Regions from separate parts of the Homo sapiens genome. Here regions 2 and 3 are each linked to region 1. Evidence: promoter capture Hi-C in 16 types of primary human blood cells and fetal thymus (Javierre and others, 2016). All regions are on one chromosome and are shown on one strand. The core of a region is centred on a gene start or on the middle of the fragment in contact, and the rest is flanking DNA. Distances in the headings are between cores, read along the strand shown.

Region 1 (4,711 bases), core at 41-2,540:
CTGTACGCCAGCCCGGGTGAGAGAGGGAGACCCCGTCTCTAAAAATAAAATGTAAAATCACTGAAAAAATGAGTGTTCGGTGAAACAAGTGGGATTTTCTGGGCCAGCAAGTCTTCCAAACTGTATATGATGCATCCTGTCTCCATGTGTAATATATTTTAATGATAAATGTATTTTTAACAGTGGCGGTTGTGTATGTTTTTATGTCTTAAGAGATGGCAGTTCGCTGCAGCTGGATTTTGTGGCTCAAGCCTTGGGGCCAAAGAGACATATTCCTGGCAGTCTGGTGGGTACCAGTCACTATTCACATACTTCCAGCAAGAAATGGTTATGGCACTGACCTGAACCCCTTGACCCCTGGTCTGGTCTTTGGAGTTGTCCCACTCTGAATATTCGAGAGAAGCAGCTTATGGTTAAAACAGGCAGTGGCAGCTGGGAGGATCTAACAGCTAGATCCTCCAGGCATTTGGAAAGGACAGGGGCATAACGAAGGCAGAATCGCTTCCTGGGTACGAATGCCCACTACTTCTGGGCACTGTGAAATGGGTTTAAGACGCGGGCCAGCAGGACAATGTGAACGGTGAAAGGAAGGGAGTGGCCGGTAGGTGGCGCTAACTGGCCCGGGCATGAGTCCCGCCGTAGCCGCGTCCTCTTGCAGGGGAAGAAAGTTGGGACCGCCAGCCTGGGCAAGCGCGTGAGAAGGGAGCTGGGGGTCCTAGGCAAGCGCGTGAGAAGGGGAAGAGGCGGCGGCGTCCTCTCCAGCTGGGCTTAGAATACTCTTAGTTCTGCCTTTGGGGTCTTGTCTTCCTTTCTGGGCCTCCTGCCTGTGTTAACTTTGATGGGTGCTGAAGGGAAGGCCGGGGTCCCGGCAGGAGAAACCCGGGAACGTCGCGGCCGTCCAGGCTCCCCTGGCGGGTTGGAGCCAGGGTTCTGACTGCCAACTGTGGTCCTTCCCGCTGCGGCTGTGGCTGCCAGGGCGAGGGCGGTCAGCGCAAACCTGGCTGAGGACATTTCGGATTCTTCCTTGGGGATTCGTTCCCTTCTCCTTGACTCCGGTGCCGCGAGGGCGACACCCTCCGGGCCCCGCGTGGCCACCCCGGGCGCTTCCCCACGCGGATGAACCCACCTCCTGGGCGCCTTCCCCTCGGTGCCCCGCTCGCCAATTGGAGGCTGCAGCTCAGCCCCCTGACAACCTGAGCCAACCAGAGGCGCCAGGGAGGGGCGGATCCTCTGTCCCCACCTTCCTCCGGAAAGAGGAAGCGGAAGTGACGTTAGGGGAAGGTGGGGGCAATCATGGTGCCGCTGGGGAGGGGAGAAGCTGCTGCTGCCGCCGTTGCCGGGAGCCGCGGAGGTAAAAGGCGAAACTAGACTCGGCCTGGGCTTGGGACTTACCGGGAGGCGCGGGACTTAGGCTCCCTCCTGAAGCATTTCCCAATAGAGACCTCAGTTTGGTCACCATAGGGACCCCACCCCTTCTCCGTTTCCATGGGGATGGGTATCCAGCCCCCCTTCCCTGTTTCCATGGAGACCCGGACCCTGCCCCTCTCCTCCTTGCTTGGAGACCCCCAGCTTGTCTTCGGATTTTTCTGTGTAGCCCTGTGCTGGGGGCTATCCCAGACAGGTTCCTTTTCCCAGCCTCCTCTCAAGGGGGCTCTGTTCGCACTCCTCGTTGGCTACCCTCAAACCTCCTGGTCTTGTTTGTTTCGGACAGTTGGTCTCCGCGTTGCCGCCGAGGGTGCCGGGGCAGCCCACTGGGGCCCTCGGTGCTCTTCTCTCTCTGCTCAGATGCAGCGAAATGTACATCTGTGGGGTTGCGTAAGCCAGAGCTAGGGGTCGGGCCGGTACCTCCCGGATCCAATCCTTTGGCCTGTCTCTGGTAACTGTCTAGCCATCCCACTAAGTAAAGGCTCACTTTCTAACCCAGAGCAGAAGAGAAAGATAAAGCGCAAAGCCAGACTGAAAACTAAAAGGGATGTGCTGATTATTTTAAAATTCTCTATTCTGCCTGCCAAACCCACATTTGTAGAGCCTGTGTTTGCAGATGAAGGAAGAATCACTATTCCAGAACATGAAAGCTTCAAATGTGGTATTTTTCTCAAGAGAATGTATCTTCCCAAGATAGTATATCTTCACGAGAGAGTAGGTAGCCATGTCTTTCAGTCATTTAGCTGACATTTCCTGAACTCTTATCATAGTATCAGTGTACTATGCTAGGAGCTGTAGAAACAAAAATAATAAGACTCAATTGATTCAGGGACGAGAGCCCACCACAGAACCATAACTTCTTGTTGACACCATATTGTTTTAGGACATAAATAGATACAGTGATCTTCGTTGTTTGTGCCTGATTGAGGAATAGCCCTTCCACCCAGAAGGTTGAAACATCTGTTCTAGGTAGGGGGGAAGGAATTCATACTTGTTCCTCTACTATTTACCAAACATTGTGCTTTACATATGTTGCCTCTTTTATTTCTTATAAAAACTTTGAGAGAACAGGAATTACTGGTCCCACCTTGCACGTAAGAAAAATGAGGCACAGAAAAGTTACCCATGTAGTAAAAGGCAAAGACAGGATTTGTAGGTAGATGACTCTGCCTCCAAAGCCTTGCTCCTTCTACCATAAACTGCATGAAACCATTTACTGCCTCGTGGTCTGATTTGGAGGATATTTGAATGGATGGAGTTTCCCTTAAGATTTGTAGCAACTCAGCCTTTCAGCAGCTGCTGTTCTGTTTGCTCTTTTGTCCCCTTTAAATATTTTGACCAAGTTTCAAATTGTTTGACAGGCGTATTCAGAAGGTCTTATGAACTTATTCAGTTTTTGAAAAGCATTGCTTTTCTTTCTTTTTCTTTTTTTTTTTTTTTTATTAGAGATGGGGGTCTCACTATGTTGACCAGGCTGATCTCAAACTCCTGGCCTCAAGCGATCCTCCCATCTTAGCCTCCCAAAGTGTTGGGATTACAGGTGTGAGCCACCACGCCCAGTCGGCATTGCTTTTCTTTAAAAATGACTTGATGGTTTTAAAGTTAAAATAAAAAAATTATTCCCAAGGATGGTTTTTCATTTGCTTTGGCTTGCTCTTTAAGTGAGAGGGAAAATGAGCCTTGTGGTTGCTGAGGAGGTCCGTCGGTCTTGTGGTATGACTCTAACTCTGGCTTTGTTCTGTTGCAGACAAGTCATTACGTTTTCATTTCTCACAACTGGGCTGAGCACAACTGAACCATGGGGGAACACAGTCCAGACAACAACATCATCTACTTTGAGGCAGAGGAAGATGAGCTGACCCCCGATGATAAAATGCTCAGGTTTGTGGATAAAAACGGACTGGTGCCTTCCTCATCTGGAACTGTTTATGATAGGACCACTGTTCTTATTGAGCAGGACCCTGGCACTTTGGAGGATGAAGATGACGACGGACAGTGCGGAGAACACTTGCCTTTTCTAGTAGGGGGTGAAGAGGGCTTTCACCTGATAGATCATGAAGCAATGTCCCAGGGTTATGTGCAGCACATTATCTCACCAGATCAGATTCATTTGACAATAAACCCTGGTTCCACACCCATGCCAAGAAATATTGAAGGTGCAACCCTCACTCTGCAGTCGGAATGTCCGGAAACAAAACGTAAAGAAGTAAGTAAAGCAGTCAGTGAGGGCCTAGTTTGGTTTTGGGGCAAGTCCTTACAAAATTCTTGGTGCAAATTTTAGCTGGGGAGTAAAGGAGTGCATGGGGTTAGGACTTAAGTAGTTTTGCTATCAACAACATATGCCTCAGGTTTTGTTGTGATTGCTTCTGGAACTTTTGGTTTGTATAGCCACATTGAAATTTGGGAATATCAAATTGTAATTTCTCGAATTTCCTTCCCCAAATCATAAATAAAACAGAAATTTCACTTAAGTAGACCCATGTTTCTGGTGCTAAAATAACTATTTAGCTTATCTACAGGGAAATAACTGGAGTTTGCTTATTTGATGAAGAAATAACTATATTTGGCTTATCTCCTGGTTGTGTTTAAATGATTTGTTTTAGAGATGAGTATCTGCTGGAATATGTTTTATTATCTTAGTGAATGTTTAATGAACTTTTATTTCACAGTGGCACACGCCTGTAATCCCAGCACTTTGGGAGGCTGAGGCGGGTGGATCATTTGAGGTCAGGAGTTCGAGAGCAGCCTGGCCAACATGGTGAAACCCTGTCTCTGCTAAAAATACAAAAATTAGCCAGGCTTGGTGGCACATGGCTGTAATCCCAGCTACTCAGGAGGCTGAGGCAGGAGAATCACTTGGACCCGGGAGGCAGAGGTTGCAGTGAGCCGAGATCATGCCACTGTACTCCAGCCTGGGCGATAGAGTGAGACTCCATCTAAAAAAAAAAAAAAAAAAAGAAAGAAATTCAGGCTGGGCACAGTGGCTCATGCCTGTAATCCTAACACTTTCTGTAATCCCAGCACTTTGGGAGGCCGAGGCAGGTGGATCACCTGAGGTTAAGAGCACCCTGGCCAACATGGTGAAACTCCATCTGTACTAAAAATAGAAAAATTAGCCAGGCATAGTGGCGGGTGCCTGTAATCCCAGCTATTTGGGAAGCTGAGGCAGGGGAATTACTTGAATCTGGGAGGTGGAGGTGGCAGGGAGCCAAGATCGTGCCACTGCACTCCAGGCTGGATGAGAGAGAGAGACTCAGTCTCAAAAAAAAAAAAAAAAAAAAAAAAA
Region 2 (4,186 bases), core at 1,216-3,715, 1.0 Mb before region 1:
TACATTTATATTTTAAATGAAAAATAATGAAAATATTCACTTTTAAAATCTTTCCTTTGGGGTATATTTCCTCTGAGATAACCTGGGATACCAACCTTAATATGCAATCTGCCGGCAAATAATCCAAGCAGCTAAATTATAACTTGCCCCACTGCTTCCTTCAAGAGAGCAGCTATATGTCTTAAATAGGTCAAATACTGCTACAGTGAAAGTTTCCATAATACTGCCACCATACCAGTGAACAATCTATTGCAAGTAATATCTATAATGAGATTCTGGTACCATAAGGCCGGGCGCAGTGGCTCACGCCTGTAATCCCAGCACTTTGGGAGGCCGAGGCAGGTGGATCACCTGAGGTTGGGAGTTCGAAACTAGCCTGACCAATATGGAGGAACCCCATCTCTACTAAAAATACAAAATTAGCTGGGCATGGTGGCGCATGTCTGTAATACCAGCTACTCTGGAGCCTGGGGCAGGAGAATCACTTGAACCTGGGAGGTGGAGGTTGCGGTGAGCCGAGATTGTGCCATTGCACTCCAGCCTGGGCAACAAGAGGGAAACTTCGTCTCAAAAAAAAAAAAAAAAAAAAGATTCTGGTACCATAAAATAGTTGAGAATTTTTGGAGTTCTTTTTGTTTTCTGAGACAGAGTTTCTGCTCTTGTCGCCAAGGCTGGAGTGCAATGGCGCGATCTTGGCTCACCGCAACCTCTGCCTCCCAGGTTCAAGTGATTCTCCTGCCTCAGCCTCCTGAGTAGCTGGGGTTACAGATGCCTGCCACCACACCCAGCTAATTTTTTGTATTTTTGTAGAGACAGTGTTTCACCATGTTGGCCAGGCTGGTCTCGAACTCCTGACCTCAGGTGATCCGCATCGGCCTCCCAAAGTGCTGGGATTACAGGTGTGAGCCACTGTGCTGGGCTTGAAGTTCATTTTAACGTAAGAATTTACAAAATTTGGGCTGGGCGCGGTGGCTTACTATGGGAGGCCGAGGCGGGTGGATCACTCAAGGTTCAGGAGTTCAAGACCAGCCTGGCCAACATGGTGAAACCCCGTCTCTACTAACAATACAAAAATTAGCCAAGCGTGGTGGCACTTGCCTGTAGTCTCAGCTACTTGGCAGGCTCAGGCACGAGAATCACTTGAACCTGGGAAGTGGAGGTTGCAGTGGGCTGAGATCCTGCCACTGCACTCTAGTCTGGGCAACAGAGTGAGACTCTGTCTCCCCCCACCAAAAAAAAAGAAAAAAAGTATACTTTTTCATAGTAAAGTATAATAAGTACTTTATACATATTCATAAATATTACTGAGATGAATTTCTGAAAATGTTCACCAATTGCCAGGAAGAAACCAGAATTTATTTCAAATTTATTTCAATTTGGATTAAAAAAACTAATCTAAATTCCTATGACAGCCAGATCTGTTTCCTCTGGTTTCACTGAATGCCATATCTTACTGAATTATCAAATGAAGCATATTCGTTTTCCTATGTGTATAAATGAGATTTAAAAATCACTGACTTTTTGACCGGGCACGGTGGCTCATGCCTGTAATCCTGGCACTTTGGGAGGCTGAGGCGGGTGGATCACGAGGTCAGGAGATCGAGATCATCCTGGCCAACATGGTGAAACCCCGTGTCTACTAAAATACAAAAAATTATCCCGGGGGGTGTTGGCAGGCGCCTGTAATCCCAGCTACTCAGGAGGATGAGGCAGGGGAATCGCTTGAACCCAGGAGGCGGAGGTTGCAATGCGCCGAGATTGCGCCACTGCACTCCAGCCTGGCGACAGAGCAAGACTCTGTCCCAAAAGAAAGAAAGAAAGAAAAAAAAATCACTGACTTTTCAAGCCAGTAATGGCATGTTGGGGAAAAAGAAATTGACTTTGTTATAACTTTTATATCAAATAATCTTAATAAATAAGGTTAAGATCAGGTTACTAGTTTTAGAAACCTTTCCAAAAGTTCTGTTGAAAAACAACAATAGGCTGGGCATGGTGGCTCACGCCTGTAATCCCAGCACTTTGGGAGGCCGAGGTGGGCAGATCACCTGAGGTCAGGAGTTCGAGACCAGCCTGGCCAACATGGAGAAACATCATCTCTACTAAAAATACAAAATTATCCGGGCATGGTGGTGCATGCCTGTAATCACAGCTACTCAGGAGGCTGAGGCAGGAGAATCGCTTGAACCCAGGAGGTGGAGGTTGCGGTGAGCTGAGATCATGCCATTGCACTCCAGCCTGGGCTACAGAGTGAGACTCCGTCTCAAAAAAAAAAAAAAAAAGAATATAATTTTAGGCCATGCGCATTGGCTCATGCCTGTAATCCCAGCACTTTGGGAGGCCGAGGTGGCCAGATCATCTGAGGTCAAGGGTTTGATCTCAGCTCACTGCAACCTCTGCCTTCCAGGTTCAAGCGATTCTCTTGCCTCAGCCTCCCGAGTAGCTGGGACTACAAGCGCCTGCCACCACGCCTGGCTAATTTTTGTATTTTTAGTAGAGGCGGGGTTTTACCATGTTGGCCAGGCTGGTCTGGAACTCCTGACCTCAAATGATCCACCCACCTTGGCCTCCCAAAGTGTTGGGATTACAGGTGTGAGCCACCCCGCCCAGCCTATATTCTTAATAGAGAATATATACACTCCTCCTCCAGGTATCATGTTTTTTTCATTGTATTGTGATGTCTAAATATAAGTGATTTTAAATTCCTGACATTTAAGTATATTATTGGTAACAGATTCACACTTTGGCCAGGTGTGGTGACCCACACCTGTAATTCCCACACTTTGGGAGGTGAAGGCAAGAGGATCACTTGAGTCTAGGAGTTTAAGACTAGCTGCAGCAATAGAGTGAGACCCTGTCTCTACAAAAAAATAAAAAAAATTATCTGGGTGTAGTTGCACACACCTGCAGTCCCAGCTACTCAGGAGGCTGAGAGGGGAGATGATCGCTTGAGTCTGGGAGGTTGAGGCTGCAGGGAGTTGTGGTTGCAACACTGTACTCCAGCCTGGGCAACAGAGGGAGACTCTGTCTCAACAAACAAACAAACAAAGAAAAAACCCCACAGCTATCTAGGGAAAAAGTAAAGCAACCAGCATATAGAAGTGACATATTGTTATATTTTCACCATAGGTTTGCTTTAAGAAATAGTGCTCCCTTCAGAATGGAAGAATTTATCTGCCTCTTATTTGATGTGGATCAGAGCTAAGATGGCTGACTAAATAAACATGGGGGACTGGAATCTCCTTGGAGATACTCTGGAGGAAGTTCACATCCACTCCACCATGATTGGAAAGATCTGGCTCACCATCCTGTTCATATTTCGAATGCTTGTTCTGGGTGTAGCAGCTGAAGATGTCTGGAATGATGAGCAGTCTGGCTTCATCTGCAATACAGAACAACCAGGCTGCAGAAATGTATGCTACGACCAGGCCTTTCCTATCTCCCTCATTAGATACTGGGTTCTGCAGGTGATATTTGTGTCTTCACCATCCCTGGTCTACATGGGCCATGCATTGTACCGACTGAGAGTTCTTGAGGAAGAGAGGCAAAGGATGAAAGCTCAGTTAAGAGTAGAACTGGAGGAGGTAGAGTTTGAAATGCCTAGGGATCGGAGGAGATTGGAGCAAGAGCTTTGTCAGCTGGAGAAAAGGAAACTAAATAAAGCTCCACTCAGAGGAACCTTGCTTTGCACTTATGTGATACACATTTTCACTCGCTCTGTGGTTGAAGTTGGATTCATGATTGGACAGTACCTTTTATATGGATTTCACTTAGAGCCGCTATTTAAGTGCCATGGCCACCCGTGTCCAAATATAATCGACTGTTTTGTCTCAAGACCAACAGAAAAGACAATATTCCTATTATTTATGCAATCTATAGCCACTATTTCACTTTTCTTAAACATTCTTGAAATTTTCCACCTAGGTTTTAAAAAGATTAAAAGAGGGCTTTGGGGAAAATACAAGTTGAAGAAGGAACATAATGAATTCCATGCAAACAAGGCAAAACAAAATGTAGCCAAATACCAGAGCACATCTGCAAATTCACTGAAGCGACTCCCTTCTGCCCCTGATTATAATCTGTTAGTGGAAAAGCAAACACACACTGCAGTGTACCCTAGTTTAAATTCATCTTCTGTATTCCAGCCAAATCCTGACAATCATAGTGTAAATGATGAGAAATGCATTTT
Region 3 (4,724 bases), core at 749-3,248, 1.1 Mb before region 1:
GCAACTCAGTGTGTGGGGAGATTATAAGTCAAGGTAATCACAAAGCAAATTTGCTAACACTATTAAAGGGAGCCCAGGAAACACAAATTACTAACCACCTTGAAATACACTCCTAGAAACAACAAAGAATCTAAAAGGATGTGGTTTTCAAGTTCTTTGTTTGTACCTACTAATTTAAAAAAAGAGATACCTGTATCCATCTCAAACAACTCAAATTATTCTAGTGTATACTTTGCTATAACCACCTTTTTTTTTTTAATGGTGGGAGGTATTAACAATGCCACTTTGCTTCTTACTAGCTGTGTGACTATAACCTTGAGAAGTTATTCAGGATCTTTACTTCTTCAATGTAAACATTAAATACCTACCTGATAAGGTTGTAAAAATAAAAACTAAAGGTAACAATAATGTCATAACAAGTGACAGTACAGTCCAGGAACTGACATGAATTCAAGTGGTTCCACACATAGTCAAAGTCCCTAACTTTCAGCCTAAATACTAGAACAATGTAGGAGATGCTTTAAGAGTGTTATGGGCCAGCTGGGTATGGTGGCTTATGCCTGTAATCCCAGCACTTTGGGAGGCTGAGGCAGGCAGATCACAAGGTCATGAAATCGAGACTATCTTGGCTAACATGGTGAAACACCGTCTCTACTAAAAATAAAAAAATTTAGCCAGGCGTGGTGGCACGTGCCTGTAGTCCCAGCTACTCAGGAAGCTGAGGCAGGAGAATCTCTTGAACCGGGGAGGTGGAGGTTGCACTGAGCCGAGATTGTGCCACTGCACTCCAGCCTGGGAAACACAATCAAGACTCTGCCTCAAAAAAAAAATAGAAAAACAAAACAAAAAAACAAGAGTGCTATGGGCCAGGCACTGTGGCTCATGCCTGTAATCCAGCACTTTGGAAGGCCAAGGTGGGAGGATCACTTGAGGCCAGCCTGGGCAACATAACGAGACCCAGTATTAAAAAAAAGAAAAAAAGCCTGTACATGGTGGCTCACGCCTGTAATCCCAGCACTTTGGGAGGCCTAGGCAGGTGGATCACCTGAGGTTCGAGACCAGCCTGACCAACATGGCGAAACCATCTCTACTAAAAATACAAAAATTAGCTGGGCATGGTGGTGCGCACCTGTAATCCCAGCTACTTGGGAGGCTGAGGCAGGAGAATTGCTTCAACCCAGGAGGTGGAGATTGCAGTGAGCCGAGATCACCCCATTGGACTCCAGCCTGGGCAACAGAGTAAGACACTGTCTCAAAAAACAAAACAAAACAGTGCTATGAAGTTTGTATTTTAGATTCCTGAATTTATTAAGTTTTCACCTCACTTTATTTTTTAAGAGAGTCTTACCCTGTCGCCCAGGCTGTAGTGCAATAGCACAATCTCAGTTCACTGCAACCTCTACCTCCCAGGTTCAAGCAATTCTCCTGCCTCAGCCTCCAGAGTAGTTTGGATTTCAGGAGCCCGCCACCACACCCACCTAATTTTTTGTATTTTTAGTAGAGACAGAGTTTCACAATGTTGGCCAGGCTGGTCTCAAACTCCTGACCTCAGCTGATCCGCCCGCCTCGGCCTCCCAAAGTGCTGGGAATACAGGCGTGAGCCACCGCTAGCCCCCTGTATTTTAAGATGTCTTATTCCTCAAGCCAGAGCCAATACAAGGATAAGAACTGCAAATACTTGAAACAAGAAAGGACAAGTATGAGGACAACGCTTAAGAGAACAGAAGGTCTTTGATAAACCTCTGCCTCCTGTATGGCAATGTTAACAAATGGAAAGATACAATTTTGAGGGTGGTAGGACTAAGAAGTCCAAGAATCTAAACACGGTATCCATGGGAGAAAAATAAGAAAGTTAGACATGATTTTCTTCTGTAGAAGGCCATATAAAGCACAAAATTTTTTTAAAAAGAAAAACTCAAATTTCTTTTTAACAGTGGATAATTTTAATCCTTCCCTCCATTACTTGAGGTTGTGCTGCCAGATTTTTTCCGGTCTAAGCCCATCCTCCAAACTCTACAGTGTTCCTACTGCTACAAACCAAAATTCAAACTCTTGAACATGGCAGTCAATACTTTCCAAGATGTGGCCTCAATTTATTTTCCTGGTTCCATCTGGATTCCACTATAATTTAGTTACATTACATTATTCTCTCCTTAAATTGTGGGTTTTTTGGACTTTGCTCTCATGGTTTCCCTGTGCTCGAAATGGGACTATTGCTCAAACTTGATCAAGACTCAGCTAGCCAGGCGCAGTGGCTCATGCAATCCCAGCACTTTGGGAGGCCGAGGCGGGCAGATCACCTGAGGTCAGGAGTTTGAGACCAGCTTGGCCAATACAGTGAAACCCTGTCTTGACAAAAAAAATACAAAAATTAGTAGGCCGGGTGTGGTGGCTCATGCCTGTAATCCCAGCACTTTGGGAGTCTGAGGCAGGCGGATCACCTGAGGTCAGGTGTTTGAGACCAGCCTGACCAGTATGATGAAACCCTATCTCCACTAAAAATACAAAAATTAGCTGAGAATGGTGGCATGCGCCTGTAATCCCAGCGTTCTGGGAGGCTAAGGCAGGAGAATCGCTTGAGTCTGGGAGGTGGAAGTTGCAGTGAGCCGAGATCATGCTACTGCACTCCAGCCTGGGCAACAAGAGCGAAACGTCATCTCAAAAAAAAAAAAAAAAAAAAAAAAAAAAAAAAAATTAGCCGAGCGTAGTGACACATGCCTGTAATCCCAGCCACTGGGGAGGCTGAGGCAGGAGAATCGCTTGAACATGGGAGACGGCGGTTGCAGTGAGCCAAGATCGTGCCACTACACTCCAGCCTGGGCAACAGAGTGACTCTGTCTCAAAAAACAACAAAAAAAGACTCAGCTAAAATGCTACCTTAATTCAGAAGTTATTCTCAGACTCTCAAGTCATAATCAGTTAATTGCTTTGCACATTACGTTTACAAATATTTCCTGCGGTCAGCAACCCCCTTCTTCCATGTCTGGAATTCACCTAGCACTCAATAAAGATTTAAGCAATAAAAGGCTTAGTTTTACAGGACCTTTCCACAAAAAGTACCATACAGATTGAGCATCCCTCATCCAAAATGCTTGAGACAGAAGTTTTGGATTGTGGAATAGTTGCATTATACTTACCAATTGAACATCCCTTACCCCAAATGAGAAAAACTCCAGTGAATAAGTATTTCCTTTGAGTGTCATATTGACACTCAATTTTTGGATCAGTTCAGACTTTGCAGCATTTCGGATTTCAGAAAAATTGCCCAGCTAATTTTTTAGCTTTTTTTTTTTTTTGAGATGGAGTTTCACTCTTGTCACCCAGGATGGAGTGCAATGGCCGGATCTCGGCTTACCGCAATCTCCGCCTCCCAGGTTCAAGCGATTCTCCTGCCTCAACCTCCCGAGTAGCTGGGATTACAGGCATGCACCACCATGCCCCACTAATTTTGTATTTTTAGTAGAGACAGGATTTCTCCATGTGTGTCAGGGTGGTCTTGAACTCCCGACCTCAGGTGATCCGCCCGCCTCCGCCTCCCAAAGTGCTGGGATTATAGGAGTGAGCCACTGCGCCCGGCCTTAGAATTCTTTTGTGGAAACAAGGTCTCATTATGTTGCACAGACTTGTCTCGAATTCCTGGGCTCAAGCAATCCTCCTGCCTCAGCCTCCCAAAGTGCTGGGATTGCAGGTGTGAGCCACCACGCCTTGCCCACATTCTCTTTTTTTTTTTTTTTTGAGATGGAGTTTCGCTCTTGTGGCCCAGGCTGGAGCGCAATGGTGTGATCTCCGCTCACTGCAACCTCTGCCTCCCGGCTTCAAACGATTCTCCTGCCTCAGCTTCCCTAGTAGCTGGGATTACAAGTGCATGCCACCACTGCCCCCAAAACAAAAATAACTTTTTTTTTTTTTAAGATGGAGTCTCGCTCTGTCGCCAGGCTGGAGTGCAGTGGCGCGATCTTGGCTCAACGCAACCTCGCCCGGCTATTTTTAGTAGAAACAGGGTTTTCACCATGTTGGCCAGGATGGTCTCGGTCTCTTGATCCACCCACCATGGCCTCCCGAAGTGCTGGGATTACAGGCATAAGCCACCTCGCCCAGCCCAAAAATCACTTACGAAGCAGCTACTGTAATGTGAACTACAACCAAATTAGTCTAGAGGATAGTAGTATTGAATAAAACATTTACATTAAACCCATCACTTTATACTTTTCAAAATACTTTTTGCAACTATCTTGAGGGTTCTTCAACAAAAGATAGCGCAAGTATGAACTCCAATTTGCAGAAGTGAGACCCAAAAAGATTATGGACTATCTTTAGGTATCTGCAGGAGCTAGGGAAGAACTAAACATCACTGCAAGTGGCCATCTATGGCGCCTGTCTTTGAGGGTTCTTTAAAATGGACTTTTGCAAACATTATCTCATCCTGTACATAAGGTTATACAACATTGAATGGCCGGGGAATTTAAGTAGAACAGCGTTTTTTATGGGCAGGTTAGTCAGCTAATGGATAAGAGACTTGAAATTACTCTTTTGGGATTAGCAAATAGAAGGGAAAAACATGATAAGGGCACAGAGCGGTGGGTCTGGGGGAAAAAGCAGAGGCACAGTTTGAAAAAAATGTGTAAGAGACTGACTAGGTAAGATATGGTCACAGTTCATAAGTCCTTTGAATTCTAGGATTAAAAAGGTGAACTCGAGTTAAGGATATGAAGTCTGGGACAGCT

What was found. The method cuts DNA at HindIII sites, captures the fragments that hold promoters and counts their contacts. A CHiCAGO score of 5 or more calls a contact.
Region 2: a contact is called between a fragment that was not itself captured here and the fragment with the promoter of MTF1 in region 1, in 8 of 17 cell types (neutrophils, non-activated CD4 T cells, fetal thymus and 5 more). The highest score is 10.7, in neutrophils.
Region 3: a fragment that was not itself captured here is called in contact with the fragment with the promoter of MTF1 in region 1 in 1 of 17 cell types (neutrophils); the score reaches 5.5 in neutrophils.

Annotation. Positions count from the first base shown.
Region 1 is chr1:37,856,171-37,860,881 of GRCh38, reverse strand. MTF1 (metal regulatory transcription factor 1) reads left to right here and starts at 1,290. Exons shown (of 11, transcript NM_005955.3): 1 at 1,290-1,351; 2 at 3,173-3,631. The coding sequence starts at 3,224. INPP5B (inositol polyphosphate-5-phosphatase B) reads left to right here. Exons shown (of 24, transcript NM_005540.3): 24 at 1-185. RefSeq lists a silencer at 1,024-1,353. The HindIII fragment of the contact is 3,574 bases long and covers 1-2,077 here.
Region 2 is chr1:38,875,134-38,879,319 of GRCh38, reverse strand. It overlaps GJA9 (gap junction protein alpha 9), which reads left to right. Exons shown (of 2, transcript NM_030772.5): 2 at 3,127-4,186. The coding sequence starts at 3,222. It overlaps RRAGC-DT (RRAGC divergent transcript), which reads right to left. Exons shown (of 2, transcript NR_186075.1): 2 at 3,094-3,379. The region is part of intron 1 of GJA9-MYCBP (GJA9-MYCBP readthrough); the gene reads left to right. Among named protein-coding and RNA genes, the nearest start is that of MYCBP, 3.9 kb to the right of the region's middle. The HindIII fragment of the contact is 8,897 bases long and covers 1-4,186 here.
Region 3 is chr1:38,992,643-38,997,366 of GRCh38, reverse strand. The region is part of intron 1 of AKIRIN1 (akirin 1); the gene reads right to left. Among named protein-coding and RNA genes, the nearest start is that of AKIRIN1, 3.7 kb to the right of the region's middle. The HindIII fragment of the contact is 5,767 bases long and covers 1-4,724 here.